Regions from separate parts of the Homo sapiens genome. Here all the other regions are linked to region 4. Evidence: promoter capture Hi-C in 16 types of primary human blood cells and fetal thymus (Javierre and others, 2016). All regions are on one chromosome and are shown on one strand. The core of a region is centred on a gene start or on the middle of the fragment in contact, and the rest is flanking DNA. Distances in the headings are between cores, read along the strand shown.

Region 1 (3,049 bases), core at 271-2,770, 370 kb before region 4:
GCAGCTTTTATAAGTCTTGAAGAAACAAACCTTTTCACTCACCTGATACAGCATCGAGAGACAGCAATACTGTTTGCACGATGGTTTTCCATGGGTAACATAGAGGCTTTTCACTACATTTTGAGTACATAGAGTTAGAAGGCTGGCCTGGGATTGATATCATCCTGGATGCCATTATTTCATTGAGGAACTCTATGTTAGTTCCACCTTTCGCAGTACTGTATGAAGTCCTGTAGAGACAGATAAAGAGAGCTAGACAGATGAAGGTACTCTTGTATGTGTATAAGTGATTCCACAATACACACGTCAAAATCTATACCATGTATTCCAGAGAGATGGATTGGCTAAAGATGGAAGGAGGATATTCTCATCCCTTCTAGGCCACATGTATGTATTATTTCAGTGTTTCTAAGAGGTATTTCCTACTTTAGGTCTTAAAAAAAAAAGTTAAAATCTATTACCTGTTAGAAATGTGCAGAGTGGATGAGAATTTGAGAGCCATTCATGCTTGTGGCAATCATATGGTACCTCTAATGGGAATATTTCAAAGGCACTGGTTATGACCTTGTTACAGCAAAATGGAGAGGGTGCTGGATGTTCCTGCATATTGTCCCACCTCTTGTAACGTGTATTGTTTTGTGATTTTCAGTGGCTTGATCTCGAACTACTGCAGGAATCCGGATTGTTCGGCAGGCCCTTGGTGTTATACGACGGATCCCAATGTCAGGTGGGAGTACTGCAACCTGACACGGTGCTCAGACGATGAAGGGACTGTGTTCGTGCCTCTGACTGTTATCCCAGTTCCAAGCCTAGAGGATTCATTCATACAAGGTAAGAAGTCTGTGGCCAGACATCTCCACGCTTAGACACTAAGAAGAAAAGCCATGGAAACTCCCACTGATGCAGAAGGCTTCATTCTACACAGGTGCTCCAATGTTGATTGAGGATCTGCCATTTTGGAGGAATCCTCAGTGCAGTGTCTGGGGGAGCCAGAGGAGTAATTTTTGGTGCAGCATGAGTGGGCTGTGTCTTTGGATAGGCACAAACCCTCCAGGGTGCTCGACATCACCACTCACTTCATTGTAAAATGAGTTATCTCAGTGTCCAGTCCAAAATTCCTGTTGTAACATGCTGTCAGATATGTGTCTCTTTCCAATGCAGTAAGCTTCTCCAGGGATTTCTTCAAGTAGACAACATTCAGTGCAATCTTCATCATCACAGATTCTCAGAAATGTGTGGCTTTCAAGCCCGTGAATCTTGAGAAACTTAACAGGGCTGCATTAATTCCATGTTGCCCTTGCATCATGGAGCATTACATGAGCTCCCAAGGCTCTATCTTTCAGGCCTTCCTCAGACCTGGGCAAGATTTGCAGGCCTAGGCTTTGAAGTGAGTGATTTCTCAGTGTTCCTGCACCTTTTTCTAATGGAAGTTGTACTTGTGGGGGGTCTGGAGAGAAAGAGTAGGAGACTTCTGCTTTATTGCAATGCAGGATGTGGGGCATGAGAAAATTCCATCTCTCTTCCAATGGGATAAGATTTTGGCCTCCACCCATCCTTATGAAGCAAACTATTTTTGCCTGCAGTCCTAGACGCACAACCGTTTTCTTCCCAATCTGCCAGAAGCCAGAAGCTGAAGGCCTTGGCTCTCGTGATCAATGGTCTAGGGAAACGTGCGAGGTTTCCATGTCTGTCCCCACCTCCGCCCTCAGCAGCCAATCACCATCTACAGTCTGCACTGCCAAATGCGTAGCCCTTTATTCTCTCATGCCCCGTGATCCCCATGAACATTCAGTAGAGATCACTAGAGAGCAGTTTGCACGTGAGCGCAGTTTTCCATAAGAAGCACTCTGAACTGTTGTTTTTCTCTAAGCTTTTACATGAAATATTGGGAAGAACTTACTGCATTTCTAGAATGGTAGGAATCTGTTCTTTTGGTGTTTGTTTGTTTTCTCATGTTCATCTGTGTACAAATAAAAAAAAGAGAATGGTCGTAATTCTCCAAGACTTCTTTCTGGTTTGTGTCATAAATGGCTTCAACTGTTTCCCTGTTCTAGGAGATACACAGCTTAATTTTTCCTGTTTTAATTTTAGCACCGACAGAGCCAAGGCCTTCTGTTCAGGAGTGCTACCATGGAAATGGACAGAGTTATCGAGGCACATATTTCACCACTGTCACAGGAAGAACCTGCCAAGCTTGGTCATCTATGACACCACACCAGCACAGTAGGACCCCGGAACAGTACCCAAATGCATACGTTTTGTTCTTTACCATAAGAGAAGGAAGGGCTGACTAAAGTTTCTGTTAGAAGAGTCATGCTTCTAGCTAAGTGCTCAGGACTCAACTTGTTTCAGATGTAGAGGTCATAGCAAAATGTCTCAGGAATATTGCCTTGAAGCAAAGGGTCTCAGAGATAGGATATGTTAATCTGGCTCTCCTTCCTCATAGCTTTATGCATCAGGAGGCTATCTGAAGGCGAGGTGATCACATTACGAAAACTGTCAGGACCACAAATAACCAAACACTTAAGAGTGTTTTCTACAACACACAGTAAGAGTCAATGCAGCCTTTCCACCTTGGAATTCTATCATTCTAACCTCTGATTCCTGAAGTAAAAGTTGTGTTGGCCCTTTCTGTCTTGGCTCACGAGGAAGGAGTATGTGCATATCTATGGAGAGTCAAAGCTTTCTATTTCTACGTCTATTCCAATAGGTAGAAACAAACTCGATCCCAAGCAGCAATGGTCTCAGATATGAGGTGCCAGAAAGAGAAGGGCAAAGGCAGGAAGGCTGATGAGAGACAGCAAAGAGACAGATGCTGAAAAATAAAAGGGGTGGGCAGATGGACAGAAGCCTGGGTCTGACCAACTCATGGCCAGTCTCTCTCCTCTAAGTGGCTACAAAGGACATGGAAAAATGGTTTCCACACGTAAAACAACAGATGGTAGAGGACTGAGAGAATTGTGACAAGGAGTACAATGAGATCAACTCCACAGATGCCCTCCTTGGCTTTCTTCTTGGGACCGTTCCTGCACGGAAGAGCAGGGAGACG
Region 2 (3,181 bases), core at 100-2,599, 300 kb after region 4:
AGCCCCAGGCCCTCAGTGGTGCTGCCAGCCCACATGAGCAGGAGGCACCCCGCTCTGGAGAGAAGCTGCATTGTAGGGAAGGCACACTGGGGAGTTAGGGACACAAATCTACCTCTCTACATTATGATAAGCACTTGAAAGTACCAGGGGACAGAGGAGGGCCGATGGCTCTAACCGACGTGAGGAGGCGCAGGAGAGGACGAGAGTCTGCAGACCACCCGGCCCCAGCGCCGGCTCCTGCCTCTCGTCCACCACCACCAGCAGCATCCTCGTAACCCCCTCAGGGTAAACCGCCAAAAACTAGAGTAGCAGTTGCAGTGGCAGCAGCAAGGCCACCCCAGTTTTGCCAAAACTGTCCTGCAACTAACCCACCGTGACAATGCTTGCTTCCCATGTTCAAGTAGTTTTGGGTGGTTTTTAGATTTTTGGTTGTAAGTAAGCGTATTTTTCTGTATTTCACCCATTCCAAGACGCACTTTCCCTCCATTTCAACATCTTTGAGATCAGGGTGTATCTTAGGATGAGGGACAAAAACCTCCCCGGCAGCATTTATCCCTTAGTGGAACACAAAACAGTGGTCACTCTCCAGTGAAGGATGTCTCAGACAACATGAGACATGGTTGCACCAAATCAATCAACTATTTAATTACCACTTGAAGCTTTTGTTTCATGCTTAGAAAGCCCTTCTTCATCCCAAGATTAAATCGTTTTCATTTCCTTTTATATGATTTGCCTTTCTTAACCTTAAATATATGACATGTCTAATTTATTTTGGTGTAAGGACTAAAGAATTGGCTTTTTTTTTCTAAACGGCTCTTTGTCCCAGATTTAATATGGTACCTTTATCACAGCAAAATTCCCAGATGCACTCAGTCTATTTCTTACCTAGATTCTATTACTATGCCAATCTCACAATGTATTAATTATAACTTTACGCCATAGTCTCATCAACATGCAATTACAAAGGCACCAATTTTGTGCACATTAAGAAAACACCAATTAAATTAACACACACCATTGACTGTAAGAAATAACCCAATCTCAACGATGTGAAAATGGTAGAAAATGCACAGCTTGGATCAATGTACTCCCATACGGCAGGTGGGACAAGTCATCTTGGTCACTTATCTTTTTCAGAAGTTTCCTGATTGTTATATTTTCCCAAATAATTTTTTTTTTTTTTTGAGATAGAGTCTCACTCTCTTGCCCAGGCTGGAATGCAGTGGCACGATCTCGGCTCACTGCAACCTTTGCCTCCCGGGTTCAAGCGATTCTCCGGCCTCAGCCTCCTGAGTAGTTGGGAGCACAGGCATGCCCGCGCCTGGCTAATTTTTATTTTTATATTTATTTATTTATTTTTGAGATGGAGTTTCTCTGTTGTTGCCCAGGCTGGAGTGCAATGGTGCGATCTCGGCTCATTGCAACCTCTGCCTCTTGGGTTCATCACGTGATTCTCCTGCCTCAGCCCCCTCAAGTAGCTGGGATTACAGGTGCCCGCCACCATGCCTGGCTAATTTTTTGTATTTTTGTAGAGACAGGGTTTTACCATGTTGGCCAGGCTGGTCTCGAACTCCTGACTGCAGGTGATCCACCCACCTCGGCCTCCCAAAGTGCTGGGATTACAGATGTGAGCCACTCCACCTTGCTTCCAGCTAATTTTTGTATTTTTTGGTGGAGATAGGGGCTCAACATGTTGCCCAGGCTGGTCTCGAACTCCTGACCTCATGTGATCCGCCCACCTCAGCCTACCAGAGTGCTGGGATTACAAACGTGAGCCACCATGCCTGGCCCCAGATAATTTTTAATTTGGCAAGTCACCACCATACAAAAAAATGAGGTTTTAATTAGTCTTACAGTGGATTTTCAGACAAACTTATAGAAAATTACACAAAGGATTTTAGTGGTTAGAAAGTAACAGCCTTTTTTTCCCCTTAGAAAGTATCTCAAAATTTACAACCTCTACCACATACTTCATGCCAAGAAAATTAGTATTGCTGTCTCATGAGCTAAAAAGACCACAGAGAAAGAGAAAAGCTTTCTGTAGTAACAATAAATGATATGAACCTCTGTATCTTTCAGAGAAAAGGAAAGATACTTGCTATGGACTGAATGTTTGTGTTTCCCCCAAATTCCCAGGTTGAAATCCTAACCCCTAAGGGGATGGTCTTAGGTGAGGCCTTTTGGGAGGTGATGAGGTGATGAGGGTGGGGCCCTCTTATTGGATTAGTGCCCTTACAAGAAGAGAAGTGAGAGAGATGTTCGCTGTCTCTGCCACGCCAGGATGCAGCAAGAAGGCAGCCCTCCACAAGCCCAGGAAGAGAGCACTCTCCAGGAGCCAGTTCAGCTGGCGCCAGCTCTCAGAGTTCCCAGCCTCCAGAACTGTGAGAAATAAGATTCTGTTTTTTAAGCCACCCTGTCTATGGTATTTTTGTTACGGCAGCCTGAACTTAGTACCTGAAGGATGTAAAGAGAAAGATTAGCTAATTTTAAGATCATTTAAGGCTATTTCTAGTCACTTTCTTTCTCATACCAAAAATCTCACAGAAATAATTTAAACCACAAACAAGAACCAAAATTGTAAGAACAAGGACATGAAATCACATCACTTCTAAGTGATCAGGTCGTGTGGGTCAGTGAGAACACCCTGGGCTGGGCAGATTCGGAGGCTGCCATTTGTCTTTTCCCTCTGCTGCAGAAGCACATCAGTTACTCAAGGCCATTTTCAAAGCACCTCACCTGAGCAGCAGCAACAAACTCAAATCCCTGTCGAAAAACACAGCAGAGCCTCCAGCCATGGGGAGCACTGGCTTGTGAGGATACTGAGGGCCCCTGCAGGTTCCAGAACTCCACTGCCCACCTGTGCAGGGCCAGGCCAGGGGACACTGCCACACAGCACCAAGTGCTCTAGCAGGGACAGGCAAGAGGCACTCAGACAGGTTGAGCCCCCGACACCTGACAGGTACAGCAGGCAACAGTGACCTAGAACCTAGAGGAGATGTCCACTGAGCTGGGTCAAGTGGTGAGTGGCTCAGAGAAGAGGAAGAGAAACAGTGATCCCAAGGACAGACACCCGTGGGGGACCAGAGACACAGCAGGGCCCCAAATACAGAGAGAAAGGGCTTGTGGACTTGGGGCAGAATCCACAGAAGGAGCTTGGGCAGGAGAGATGACCAGATTTGCC
Region 3 (3,376 bases), core at 477-2,976, 320 kb after region 4:
GCAGGAGAATCACCCGAACCTGGGTGGTGGAGGTTGCGGTGAGCCCACATCGCGCTACTGCACTCCAGCCTGGGCAACAGAGCGAGACTCCATCTCAGAAAATAAACTAATAACTAAATCAACAAATAGATCTGTATGAACCGATACAGAAAGATCTCCAAATCCCATCAAGGAAAAAAAAAAAGTTTCTGAAACTGAGATGACCTTAAAAAAAATTATTTTTGTGTGTAAATTTTCTTAAGAAAAAAAAATCACAGGCCAGGTGTGGTTGCTCACGCTTATAATTCCATCACTTTGAGAGGCAGAGGCAGAAAGATTGCTCGAGCCCAGGAAGTCAAGAACAGCCTGGCCAACATGACGAAAACCCATCTGAACAAAAAATTTAAAAATTAGCTAGGTGTGGTGGTGAGCCTGTAGTCCCAGTTTACTCAGGAGGCTGACGTGCTAGTATCACTTGAGCCCAGGAAGTCTAGGCTGCAGTGAGCTAAGACTATGCTACTGCACTCCAGTCTTGGTGACAGAGCAAGACCCTGTCTCAAAAAATAAAATAAAAATCGCACACACACAGTTTTACTTGAAAGAGTAACAGTGAGTGTTCCTTAATACTGACTTATTTAAGCACGGAAACAATGCTGCTAAATTTGGTTTGCTCCGAAGTGTTGATTTCCATATGTATACAATGGCCCAACACAAAACAAGCATACAAAACGATACTCAATATCCTTGAAAAATCTCAGAGCTGTTTTTACAGTAGGAAATCCAAGGACAATAAAAATACCTTCTTGAAAAACTCTAACAGCTGATATTAAACTCACCAATCTGACAGACTGTAAATTGCTGAACACTCTGACGGGTCTTTAGATACCACTCCGATGGCAAATCAAAAAGACTGTGAACAAACAGGCATCTCATTCCACGAGCAATGACATCCCATCCCGGCACTATGGCCTCCGCGGCAGGACCACCACTCGCAACCGGGGAGGATTTTTTCCTTGTTACAACAACTAGGGAGCACTACCATCATTTAGTGGACAGAAAAAAGCAAGGTCCTCCAACACGTAGGAGCAAGCCACACAAAACGTCCTGCCCCCCAAATGCCAACAGGCTGCTGGCCAGAAACAGTGCTGGTCTGGCCAGGCTCTTATACAGAGGGGACACAGCTTTAGTTTTACCTGATCTGCTGGGGCCCAGACAGGTTAGAACGAAGGCCCGTGAACTCTATGTCCAGACCTGCCAGGAAGGCAAAAAATAGCAGTCCTCGGGTGCAGAACATCGCCAGCACTCCTCACACTGTAGATCTGCAGGCGGCCAAGGCACCCGCGCTCACCTCTGCGCTCAAGAAGCCAAGTGAGGTCAGGAAGGGAAAATGGAGGAACCAAGGCAAGGAGCAGCCAGGCACCTGGGCGCACGGGGCTCTGGCCAACAAGGGACGTGGGGCTCGGAGTGTACTTGCTGCTCAAAGTCCCACCGCCCCGGGGCTGGAGAAGGAAGCCCCCCTGTCCTTCCCGAGGCCCTCTCTGAGGCCCTGTGGCCTGGCAACCGTCCCGCCACCCCCTCCTCAAGCTCGCCCGGGGCAAGGGGCTCTGTCCGGCACAGCCGCGAATCCCAGGCTCTTCACCCACGAAGTCGGCCTCCTGGACGAGCTCCTGCAGCAGAGGGAGGCTCTCCTCGAACTCGTCGGCGCCCACGTCCATGGCCGTGCAGCTCCGCGGAGTCGCCCAGCGCTATCACGTGCTGCCCACGTGCTGCCCACGCGCTTCCGTCGCGCCGCCGGGTCTTAAAGGGCGCACACATGGAAACCAGGCAGCTGCCTCCGCCCCACGTGCCCAGCTTCCCCGTGTGCTGCTGGCGTCGCCCACACCTGCCTGCGGGTGTTTTAATTGTACGATTTGCTACAGAGGTTTGATTGCAATTGCAATCAAAGCCTGTTTACCTGGCTCCTCAGCAATTTCTTTGCAGCCCTTAACGTGAGAATGTCATTTACATGGACTTAGAATGTTAAGAGGCGTGGCAGGAGACGAAGACAGAGTCCAGAAAGGGTGAAATCAGAAAAGCGGAGCAGGAACAACACCGGACGCAACTGCAATAAGCAGATCCTTTGCTGCGGCTCACGGTCTTCTAAATCACCTCTTCCCAACTTCTCCATCACTGCCAGTATGTCTGTCCCCATTCCCTCTCCCACGCCCCTGGACATCTTTTTCCTCATTCTGCTGTCCACCTTACCACTGTCTTCACACCTGCAATCAAACTTTGCAAAGCCTCAAGAACTGCCCATTAAATTGAAGGAATCCTTGGTCCCCAGGGATTATCTCGTGCACTCACTCCTTGCGGAAATCCCTACCTACATCATCACATACATGTGAGCTTAATTTTTACTTTTGTTACTGTTTCCAGTGCAACTAGTCCATGGTCTTCCTTACAGTGTCCTCCCTTGAATTCTAGGCTTCTACTTGAACAGCGTTTTGGAACTATGGTCCTCAAAGTGAGGTGCTCAAATCAATCTTTAAGGTTAGCGGAGAAAACATTACCGTTATACTTTATTTTTTCCTTTTGAGACAGTCTCACTCTGTCACCCAGGCTGGAGTGCAGTGGTGCCATCTCGGCTCTCTGCAATCTCCACCTCCTGAGTTCAAGCGATTCTCCCGCCTCAGCCTCTGAACAGCTGGGATTACAGGCATGCACCACCACGCCCAACTCATTTTTGTTTTTAGTAGAGATAGGGTTAAACCGTATTGGCCAGGCTGGTCTCGAATTCCTGGCCTCAAGTGATCCACCTGCTTCAGCCTCCTAAAGTGGTGGGATTAGAGGTGTGAGGCACTGCATCCGATCTTCAATTATACTTTTAAATGCCTCTCCGGGACATTAATTAAGCAAAAGGGGACTATTAAGCCATTTGATTCTGAAGACCTCTCAGAACAAATCATACTTCATACAGATGTGTTCCATTTAAAATAACACATTGAATACTCAAATTGGCAGAAGTAACATATTTCACTTCTAAACAAACATTTAATTGGGGTATACATTAAAAAAACTGGAAAACAATGCTCTAGAAGCCACCTTAACTGCCTACAGGTTTTTTCTCACATTTATCAAATAGCCAAAAATTAACACCTTAATCAGCTCCTTTCAGAGAACTGCCATGATTCCCATCTACCCAAGCTCAAATTTTAGATTAACTTGCATGCATTTCAAGTTTCATCTCCTATCTAATAAAATGTTCACTTCATGGCAAATTGAGCGCCCACTAACCCCAACCATTTCCACCTCTGCTTTCAGCTCCTGATGCCACCTCCTTCCTCTTTCAAATTTGTTTCTCTTACTGTTGGGAACCAAGAGTCCAAGTGAGGTTGGCATTTGGTCCTTTCATTTTCAC
Region 4 (3,236 bases), core at 578-3,077:
GTCCCAGAGAGCAAACACATCCTCATCCTGGTCTGCTTCTAGATTCCCAGTGGGAATGTCAGATGGTTGGAGATCCCTGGAAGGTGGGCTGCCTAACTTGTCATCCATTGTTGGAGGATGCCTTGGAGACAAGATGTCTCTTCAGCATCGTAAAGCCAGTTGCACCGGCACCTGCTCTGCTCCAGGCAAGCAGGTAGAGCAATGCTCAGGCCCAGAGGGGAGGGACCCTAAGCTTTCCTCCAGTAATAGCCCTAAATGTGTCACCGCTGATACCACTCAGGAAAGGGAAAAGAGGAAGAACAGAGACCCAAGAAGTCCGGAGAGCTTGGGCGAGGGTAGTGGGGGCAGACAAGTGGGCAGGACCAGAGGCAGGGAGGGCCCAGTTACCTCTTATTTCAGGGAAGCAGTGCCTGCACCAAAACCACGCCACTGCTCGTTACTAACAGAAGGCCCCTGACGGGCTTTGGCCCACAGCTTCTCCAACCCACCAAGCATCCACACTTGTTACCGTGCAATAGTTTCAAAAGGGCTCATGATGGGAAAAAAATGTGGTGACACTTTTTACTAAAGGATTCTCAAAGCAAAATGCTCAAATAACCAAGTAAACTACTCAAGCAAGGCCCTTTTGAGGCCATCGCCCTATCCCATGGGCCCCATCGGACTGCACGGTGTGACTCAGTTTGGATTTGCTCAGTGCTTTCACAGATCCCAGCTGAAGCTCACACCCCTATGAGGCAGCCGTCATCATCCCTGGTTGACTGATGAGGAAATGAGGCTTAGAGAGGCAGTGACTTACCCAGTGATGCTCAGCTAATAAGGGGCACAGCTGGGATTCCACCAAATATTCTCACTTCCAAGCCAGGGCAATTCCAGGCCACCTCAACACCATCATTGAGGTCAATCGTCATCACTCTTGAGCAGAAGGAGGGGGCCCACAGTACTATTGGTGGGGAAGCGGGACCCAGAGCAAGTTGATAGTTCTGGGAGAAGCCAGTGGGGCAGGCAGAGAGGCTCCTGGTCTCCCAGTCAACTCCCATTCAAGCAACCTGGCAACCTGGCCCCCGACTTGTGCTAGCTGTTCTCTCCTGCCTCAGCTTCCTCCTCAAAGACCCAGAGTTTGTGGTGGATTAAACTAGAGAAGAGAATGCCCCGTGCCTGGGACACAGCCAGACACCCACGAACTGCACAATAAACATAGCCCCCTACCTCTTTCCTGATATGGAACTGAACTTCATAGGATTTGCTTTATATTTCTCCCTGTCCCAGGAACTCCCATGTTACAGAGGCTTTTTTACCTCAGTGACGATGGAAGAGCCGGGCGTGTCATACACCCAGCCATCCTGGCAGGGACCCAGCGGCAGGTGGCTCCTGTTGGTGGCCAGGCTAGCCAGGGGGTCTACACAGCTGAGGGCGCTCTGGTTCCAGTCCACTTCATAGCGCCTGCACTGGCCAAGGAAGGCCTCGCCCGCGGGCCCCAGGCCTGGCACTGTATAGTTCAGCTCCTCCGCAGGGCTCCAGCCACAGCGCTGGCTCAGCTCAGCCACCCCAGGACTCTGGCAGTGGTGGTCAGGTGTGAAACCCAGGAAGACGATGCCCACACAGATGGGCGCAAAGGCAGCCGACAGCAGGCATAAGATGAGGAAGGCTTGCTTCTGGAACCAGCCAGACTCCCCAACCTGCTCCAGAATGTCATCCACGGTGGGCATGATGGCTCAGCATGCTCATGGCCGTGGCCAGACCTGCTCTGGGCTGCAGTGGCCAGGTGCAATGTCTCCCTCAGAGATCTTTGAAAAGGAGTGGTTTGAAATCAGTTTGCTGTCCAAGTGTGAAACATCTGGAAGGCAACCAAGTAGAAATAATCTTTTACCCTATGGTGCTGGTTTCAGGAAAAGGAAGAATGCACGTGGCCATCTGATCAAATCGTTTGCTTTGCCCGGGAGCGAGTCAGTGGGGTCTAAGCCCGAAGAGAATTGAAGTTCAGCCACAGAGCAAGAAGAGGGCAGGAGAGCAGGCCGTGCAAACCTCCTAGTAGCTCCCTCAGGGCTCTTCCAAAAAGAATATCTACTTGTTTTCTAGATGTGATGGTATGAGGCAAGTATTGGGTGACAGCCAGGTACTAGATACTGTATTCGGCTAATTAGTTCTGTGATACCATTTAAGTATTTTTTTTAGTTTTTTTTTCCCATAGGTTTTGAGGGAACAGGTATTATTTGGTTACATGAGCAGGTTCTTTAGTGGTGATTTGTGAGATTTTGGTGCATCCATCTCCCAAGCAGTATACACTGCACCCAATTTGGGTGTTTTAAGCTCCACCTCTTCATTTGTGTGTGTGTATACATGTCTAGATGTGTTTACTTGTATGTACACTTACTGTTATATGTTGTGTCTACCAAATTGGCTTATAAGTAAAAGAGTGTTCATAAATTAAGTAAATAAGTCTAAGCAATTTTCAAATTCACTTAAGTATGACTTTGCTAAATAGGCTGTCTTTTAAATTATCAGTAAAATGAAAATAGAAATGTCTTCAAAATATAGACATGGTCTAAATTATGCAAGTCAGAAACTAGGTTGACTAAATGCTTTAAGGTCATAAACTGCTTTGGCTTTTGAAAATTGTTCAACTTTCCTGCTTTGCAGTTTGGTAGGGCCTGCCCTAGCTATGCTGGAAATAGTTAGACCTCATCTGCACCTAAGTACGTAACTAAAATAACTTACTGGGTATTTCACCAAAATTAACAATTACTAAGAGCTACCATTATAACATGTAGTGATGACTACTGAAAACAGATCTACACGTGAGGTGAGTAAGGAGAGTAAAATGTATCATTAGTAAAATAATATAAGAAGGCATGGGAATGTAAATTTTTGCCTAGTTCAGAGGGTTAAATGATTGTTTTAAATTATATAAGATAAAGCTTAAGGTTCAAACAAGTTATGGAAGGTTTGTAAAAAATTAATCTTGTAAAAGGAATCCTGTGTGTAAACATATTGACTACACTAAAAAGGATATTATTTGGTTTTCCATAAGTTGAACAATGGAATACAAGCACAACAAGGTTTTCTTGAAGCACTTACATGCTGTTTAACAAAAAAAATTTGTAAAAGGTTATAAAAGATTTATAACAATCTCAGTTCATGATCAAACTGATTAAGATTGGATGGATTTCTCTGTAAGGTTTTATTTTTTTTAATTGGGGTTGACATTAATAGACTAATGTAAGGGTAAAATTTGGCTT
Region 5 (3,014 bases), core at 75-2,574, 310 kb before region 4:
CCATTCGAAGTCAAGACTGCGTTCTTCTATGTGTAACCTCAGCGTTTAGCATGGTGCCAGCAGCATGGCAGAGGTTCAGGAAATAAGTTAAACATCAGAGATATCACAAAAGTAAGTCACATAAAGATGAGTAACAGAAACCACATCGCTATCAGCTAGATTGGGCACAATATCTATTTCATTCATAAATGATCCTAGCAATTGAGAAAAGAGAATCATCTACAGAACCAATCTCTTACTTCGAAGTTTTTATGCTGATTAAGCAGAAAATGGAGTGACATCACGAAAGACTGTGATTCCATTGCACATTTCCTAAGAACAAGTGGCTCCCTATACTTGATTGTGGATTTAGGTGTTTTCAAGTCCTTTGGCTGCCAAACAGATGTGGGGTAAGATTACCTTCTGGTAAGAACGCAGTGACAAGGCATGCCACCCCTGCCACTATATTGCTTGCCGCAAAGGGGAGGCGTCGTCCAAGGCGCTCAATGGTTAGTAAGATCAAGAGAGCTCCTGGCAGTTCCACCACGCCCGAGATGAAAAAGTCTATATAGAGGTTGCCCCCTATAATTCCCAGGCGCATGACAAGTCCTTGATACACCACTGCGCTTGTGAACCTGTAGCAACATTGAAAGACACCAGAGAACAAGTAAGAGATAACTTCAAGCTGATTTGAAGGAAGGGATGTATTGTAAATTTAACGCAAGCTTTTAAATCCATCACAAGTCAAACTTACCAAGCAAACATAAGAATAAGTGTGCATTTCCTCATTTGGGGAGTTCTCACCAGATCTAAAAAGGATGGATTACTAACTTCCTCATCTGTAACAGTGATCTATATAAGAAAAGCAGATTTCAGTAGCAATAGACAGAAAAAAAAAAAACCTGCATAGTATAGACTTGTCATTAACCAGAATCAAATGATCTTACTGAAGTGACTAGGGGCTTTCATAATATCTTAAAACCTGACAATTAAAACACTTCTGCTCTTGCATTTAGAACACATCAAATTCACAAAGATAGGATTGCTGCACTGAGAATCTGTTCTTAGGATAATTTCAGTACTTTATGTTAAACTGCTCTGTATGTTCTAAATACATATGCACATTTATTACATTGGGGGAAATGAGAGTCAGGGTGGGTGAAGCAAGTGGGATCCAACCAATTAAGGGTTTCTTTATAAACTAAATCCTCAAATCTGACTTTCACAAACAAAATAGAGTAATGTTAAGTTTAAGAGTAAGCACCAAAGGTATTATTTTGCTTTTGCCCATTTATTGTAATCTAACATCTTTTTGATCCAGAAAAATTCAGCTCATCTCTAGCTGGCCATCCAAGAAACTGGTCTTTTCAATTCAATTCAACAAATACTGCTATTGGCCAACTACATACAAAACACTGAAAAAAGCGAAGCTGGAGAGGACACCCCCCAATCCCCACATCCTGCCTCCAGTCTAACATGCGGAAGCATCAGAGCATGATACCCTGCAGTGACCGCAGCTCCAGTTTCCTGTGCTTGTCAGTCTCTTACCTCTGCATGGAGGGCTCTTTGACCTCCTCAGTCCTGATTTTACCTCCCCTGGGAAGCCTTTCCTAGCCTCAGATAGAACTGATGGCTCCCAAATTCTGCCTCTACTCCCCGGACCTCTATCCTAGCACCTGTACAACAGCACTCCCCTGTGGGTCTGGAGCTCTTGGAAGGCGGGAGTGCATTGTCACACCAAGCAAAGTGCCTGGTGTTCAACAACTGTTTGTGTAATGACTGAGTGCTGAAACAAGAAGTCAAGTGCCCTGGTCATATCTGTTCCTCAGTGTCGTCCTGGGTTTCTCTCCTCCTATTAAACAAAAATGCTGGCTACTAAGGACAAGACCGATGCTATCTATTTGTACAACTCCAGATTTGGCCCAGATTGAATGAAAATCTAGGCACATTTTCCCCAAAGCTTTGAGCTAAAGTCTCTCTACCAGTAATCACAGGAATTTGACTTAGAGCATACACACACTGATAGTACCTTGTCAATCACAGATTCTAAACAGTAAATTCAATAGATCAACCAAAGCTTGATATCTTATGCCTATCTTTGCTCCAAGGAAAGTCACACACACACAAAAGTAGACTGCAAAATGAATGCCTTTGGTCACTTTCTTTTCCAAAGTCTTCACAATCCTGTATTTCTTCTATACCAAGACACATTGGTTTTCTACATTTTAACATCTCTTAATTGGAAGGTGTCCTACAACTGAGCTGGTAAGAAAGAAATGTGTCCCAGTTTAAACAACATGGTTTCCTTTACTTAGTGGTACATAAAATGACTATGTGTCTTAAAATCAATAGTGTCTAGAGTCAACAAAACAATAGTTTCCATGACAATCGCCGTGGAAGACTGCTGATGGATTCCACCATCCATGCTTCCCTTCCCTCTTTTGAGAATACGTAGAATTTTAGTTGGGCATATGGCAGCCTAGTGACAGTCATTTTTTCTATCCTCTTTTTCAACTGTGAGTGGCACTGTGATTAAGACCTCAGCAATGAGGTGGTTGTAGGGGTCATGTGTATAAGTTCTAGGTCTCTGCATTTAAAAAGGTAATAACTTGCTGGAAGAAGATGCTGGTGAGCTTCAACCATACCACCTGTGTAGGCGATGGTGGAGATGCAAGATAAATGGAACTCATGGAGTAGAGCTGCCTCACTAGAGCTTGGCTGCTCACCTCTGTGTGCGTGTGCTAGAGAGAAAGACACTTTTATCTTTTTCATCACTGTATTTTTGGGGCCTTGTTTCATTAGCAAGTTGACCTGGATCTTAACTAATATAATGTCTATTAAGATGACCCCTGAGCTAACCTTCTAAATTTGAAGACCCCAGTGAGGGATTTTTCTGTGTCTACCTTAACCTTTGCTGCTCAAAAAACAAGACAGGAATATCAAAAGTGAAAGATAGGAACTCCATAGATTACAAATATATATTATGGTATAGTTTGTTGCCAAAATGTTTTCTACAATTCATTTCTATGTGTTAA
Region 6 (3,048 bases), core at 446-2,945, 350 kb after region 4:
GGTGAAACCCCATTTCTACAAAAAATACAAAAAATTAGCCAGGCATGGTGGTGAGTACCTGTGGTCCCAGCTACTCAGGAGGCTGAGGTGGGGGTTGCAGTGAGCCAAGATTGAGCCACTGCACTCCAATCTGGGTGCCAGAGTGAGACCCGTCTCCACACACACACACAAAAAAGTTATTGCTTTGCTTTCTATGTCTTGTCTTTACTTATCAAGCTGTTTTTCTTTCTTTTTTTTTTTTTTTGTTGGATGATGTCTCACTATGTTGACCAGGCTGGAGTGCAGCAGCTACTAACAGGCAAAATCAACCATAGTATACTATACAACCTCAAACTGCTGGCCTCAAGTGATCCTCCCACCACAGCCTCCCTAGTAGCTGGGACTATAGGCACCTGCCACTGCACCCTGTAAAAGCTATTCTCTTATATATACTTCTAGAAGCTTTACATTTTTTGCTTTTATTTTTAAATCCACGATTTATCTCAAATTAGCTTTTATATAGGGTGTGAGGTAGGGATCTAGGTTCATCTTTCCCATGTGAGTAATCTGTTATTCCAGCACCATTTGTTGAAAAGACTTTAATTTCTCCATTTCATTCCATTGATGCCTTTGTTGAAAACAAGCATAAGTCTGGGTCTATTTCTGAACTCTGTTCTCTTTCTCTGTCCTTATGCCAAAACCACATTGTCTTGTTTACAACAGCTTTATAGGTAATGTTAAAATCAGAGCATGTAAGTGCTATTTTCTGACTTCAAAATTGTTTTGGCTATTCTGAGTGCTTTGCATTTTATACAGTATTTATTTACACTATTTATTTATTTATTTAGAGATGGAGTTTCATTCTTGTTGCCCAGGCTGGAGTGCAATGGTGCAATATCTCAGCTTACTGCAACCTCCGCCTCTTAGGTTCAAGCAAGTCTCCTCCCTTGGCCTCCAGAGTAGCTGGGACTACAGGCACCTGCTGCAACACCTGGCTAATTTTTTGTAGTTTTAGTAGAGATGGGGTTTCACCGTGTTAGCCAGGATGGTCTCAATCTCCTGACCTCATGATCCGCCCGCCTCGGCCTCCCAAAGTGCTAGGATTACAGGCGTGAGCCACCGCGCCCGGCTGGAAGCTATTCTTTTGTTGTTGTTGTTGTTGTTGTGTCACTATGTTAACCAGACTGGAATGCAGTAGATACTCACAGGTGCAATCATAGTAGACTATGATAGCATTGCCCAGGCTAGACTCAAACTCTTGGACTCAAGCAATCTCTTGCCTCAGCTCTTGAGTAGGTGGGACTACAGGCACATACCACCATGCCTGGCTCCTTTAGTATTTCTTGTAGTGTAGGTGTGCAGGCAATTCATTTTCCTTCATCTAAAAATGGCTCTTCACTTTCACTCTTGTTTTTTTTTTTTTTGAGACAGAGTCTCACTCTGTTGCCCAGACTGGAGTGCAGTGGCATGATCTTTTTTTAACTTTTTGCTACAATTTGCTAAGGTGTAATTTTTCCCTTGTCTATCTTGGTCTTTGAACTTCTTTTCACACCAAATGTGGAAATTTTCTTCAGTTTTTTTCTGCCCCATTCTCTCTCTTCCTTATGTATGAGATTCCTATTCCATGCATGCTAGTCCTATTTATTTTGTCCTGCAGACCACCAAGGCTCTGTTCATTTATATTTTATTTTTTTGAGACGGAGTTTCATTCTTGTTGCTCAGGCTGGAGTGCAATGGCGTGATCTCAGCTCAACGCAACCTCCGCCTCCCAGGTTCAAGCGATTCTCCTGCCTCAGCCTCCCGAGTAGCTGGGATTACAGGCATGCGCCACCAGCCTGGCTAATTTTGTATTTTTAGTAGAGATGGAGTTTCTCCATGTTGGTCATGTGGGTCTCAAACTCCCGACCTCAGGTGATCTGCCTGCATTGACCTCCCAAAGTGCTGGGATTACAGGCATGAGCCACCACACCTGGCCTATTTTTTAATTTAATTTAATTTAATTTAATTTTTTGAGACAGAGTTTTGTTTGTTACCCAGGCTGGAGCGCAATGGTGTGATCTCAGCTTGCTGCAACCTCCACCTCCTGGGTTCAAGCTATTCTTCTGCCTCAGCCTCCCAAGTAGTTGGGATTACAGGCATGGGCCACCACATCCAGCTCATTTTTGTATTTTTAGTAGAGACAGGGTTTCCCCATGTTGGCCAGGCTGGTCTTGAACTCCTGACCTCAGATGATCTACCCGGCTTGGCCTCCCAAAGTGCTGGGATTACAAGCGTGAGCTACCGTGCCTGGCCTGTTCATTTATTCTTCATTATTTTTCTCTGTGTTCTTCAGGTCGTGTATATGATCTATCTTCAAACTTCCTGACCCTTTTTCTTCTGTCTCCAAGATGCTGTTAAGGCCATTCAGAATTTTTTTTTCTTTTTTTTTAGAGATGAGGTCTAACTATGTTGCTCAGCCTAGTCTCAAACCCCCAGCCTCAAGTGATCCTCCCACCTCAGCCTCCCAAGGTGCTGGGATTACAGGTGCGAGCCACCATGCCCGGCCCCATCCCAGTGAATTCTTAATTTCAGATTGTGTACTTTGCAAGTTCTAGAATTTCTATTTGGTTCTTGTTTATATTTTTTCCTTTTACTCCTGAGATGTCCACATCTATTCCTCTATGAAGATTATATTTTCCTTTGTATCTTTAAACATATGTAAAATAGAGCCTTTAAGATCCTCATCTGATAATTCTAGTATTGCAGGGTCTGTTGACTGTTGTGGTTTTTTTCCACCCTGGTTGTAAGCTATATTTTCCTAATTCTTTGTGTATCTAGAAAGTTCTCATTGCATGCTGAACATTATAGTTGCTACATAACTGGACATAGAGATTTTATTATCTTTAGAGAATATATTGAGTTTTGTTTCCACAAGCAGTCAAAATACTGGCAAATCACCTTGATCCTTTTGAGGCTTGTTTTTAAGCTTATTAGTTTGGGTCTAGAGTAGCTTTTACTCTATGGCTTTGGCCCTACCCCTAAACTGTGGTCTTTCTGAGATGTCAATGGAGTGTCCAAGGAGTTCAGTAA

Evidence for each region. The method cuts DNA at HindIII sites, captures the fragments that hold promoters and counts their contacts. A CHiCAGO score of 5 or more calls a contact.
Region 1: a fragment that was not itself captured here is called in contact with the fragment with the promoter of SLC22A1 in region 4 in 1 of 17 cell types (total CD8 T cells); the score reaches 6.3 in total CD8 T cells.
Region 2: a fragment that was not itself captured here is called in contact with the fragment with the promoter of SLC22A1 in region 4 in 1 of 17 cell types (neutrophils); the score reaches 5.2 in neutrophils.
Region 3: a contact is called between the fragment with the promoter of PNLDC1 here and the fragment with the promoter of SLC22A1 in region 4, in 3 of 17 cell types (neutrophils, M2 macrophages and total B cells). The highest score is 6.5, in neutrophils.
Region 5: a fragment that was not itself captured here is called in contact with the fragment with the promoter of SLC22A1 in region 4 in 3 of 17 cell types (total CD8 T cells, total CD4 T cells and naive CD8 T cells); the score reaches 5.2 in total CD8 T cells.
Region 6: a contact is called between a fragment that was not itself captured here and the fragment with the promoter of SLC22A1 in region 4, in 1 of 17 cell types (neutrophils). The highest score is 5.4, in neutrophils.

The regions. Positions count from the first base shown.
Region 1 is chr6:160,490,563-160,493,611 of GRCh38, reverse strand. It overlaps the pseudogene LPAL2. Among named protein-coding and RNA genes, the nearest start is that of SLC22A3, 140 kb to the right of the region's middle. The HindIII fragment of the contact is 705 bases long and covers 1,168-1,872 here.
Region 2 is chr6:159,823,181-159,826,361 of GRCh38, reverse strand. No RefSeq gene overlaps it. Among named protein-coding and RNA genes, the nearest start is that of PNLDC1, 24 kb to the right of the region's middle. The HindIII fragment of the contact is 1,375 bases long and covers 662-2,036 here.
Region 3 is chr6:159,798,626-159,802,001 of GRCh38, reverse strand. It overlaps PNLDC1 (PARN like ribonuclease domain containing exonuclease 1), which reads right to left and starts at 1,726. Exons shown (of 19, transcript NM_001271862.2): 1 at 1,619-1,726; 2 at 1,173-1,230; 3 at 816-889. The coding sequence starts at 1,694. The HindIII fragment of the contact is 10,328 bases long and covers 1-3,376 here.
Region 4 is chr6:160,120,406-160,123,641 of GRCh38, reverse strand. SLC22A1 (solute carrier family 22 member 1) reads right to left here and starts at 1,827. Exons shown (of 11, transcript NM_003057.3): 1 at 1,296-1,827. The coding sequence starts at 1,706. It overlaps LOC124901452 (a long non-coding RNA gene), which reads left to right and starts at 1,947. Exons shown (of 2, transcript XR_007059842.1): 1 at 1,947-2,800. The HindIII fragment of the contact is 2,683 bases long and covers 235-2,917 here.
Region 5 is chr6:160,434,597-160,437,610 of GRCh38, reverse strand. SLC22A3 (solute carrier family 22 member 3) reads right to left here. Exons shown (of 11, transcript NM_021977.4): 6 at 734-831; 7 at 400-614. Among named protein-coding and RNA genes, the nearest start is that of SLC22A3, 88 kb to the right of the region's middle. The HindIII fragment of the contact is 1,235 bases long and covers 707-1,941 here.
Region 6 is chr6:159,770,006-159,773,053 of GRCh38, reverse strand. The region is part of intron 4 of ACAT2 (acetyl-CoA acetyltransferase 2); the gene reads right to left. Among named protein-coding and RNA genes, the nearest start is that of SNORA20, 8.9 kb to the left of the region's middle. The HindIII fragment of the contact is 2,503 bases long and covers 444-2,946 here.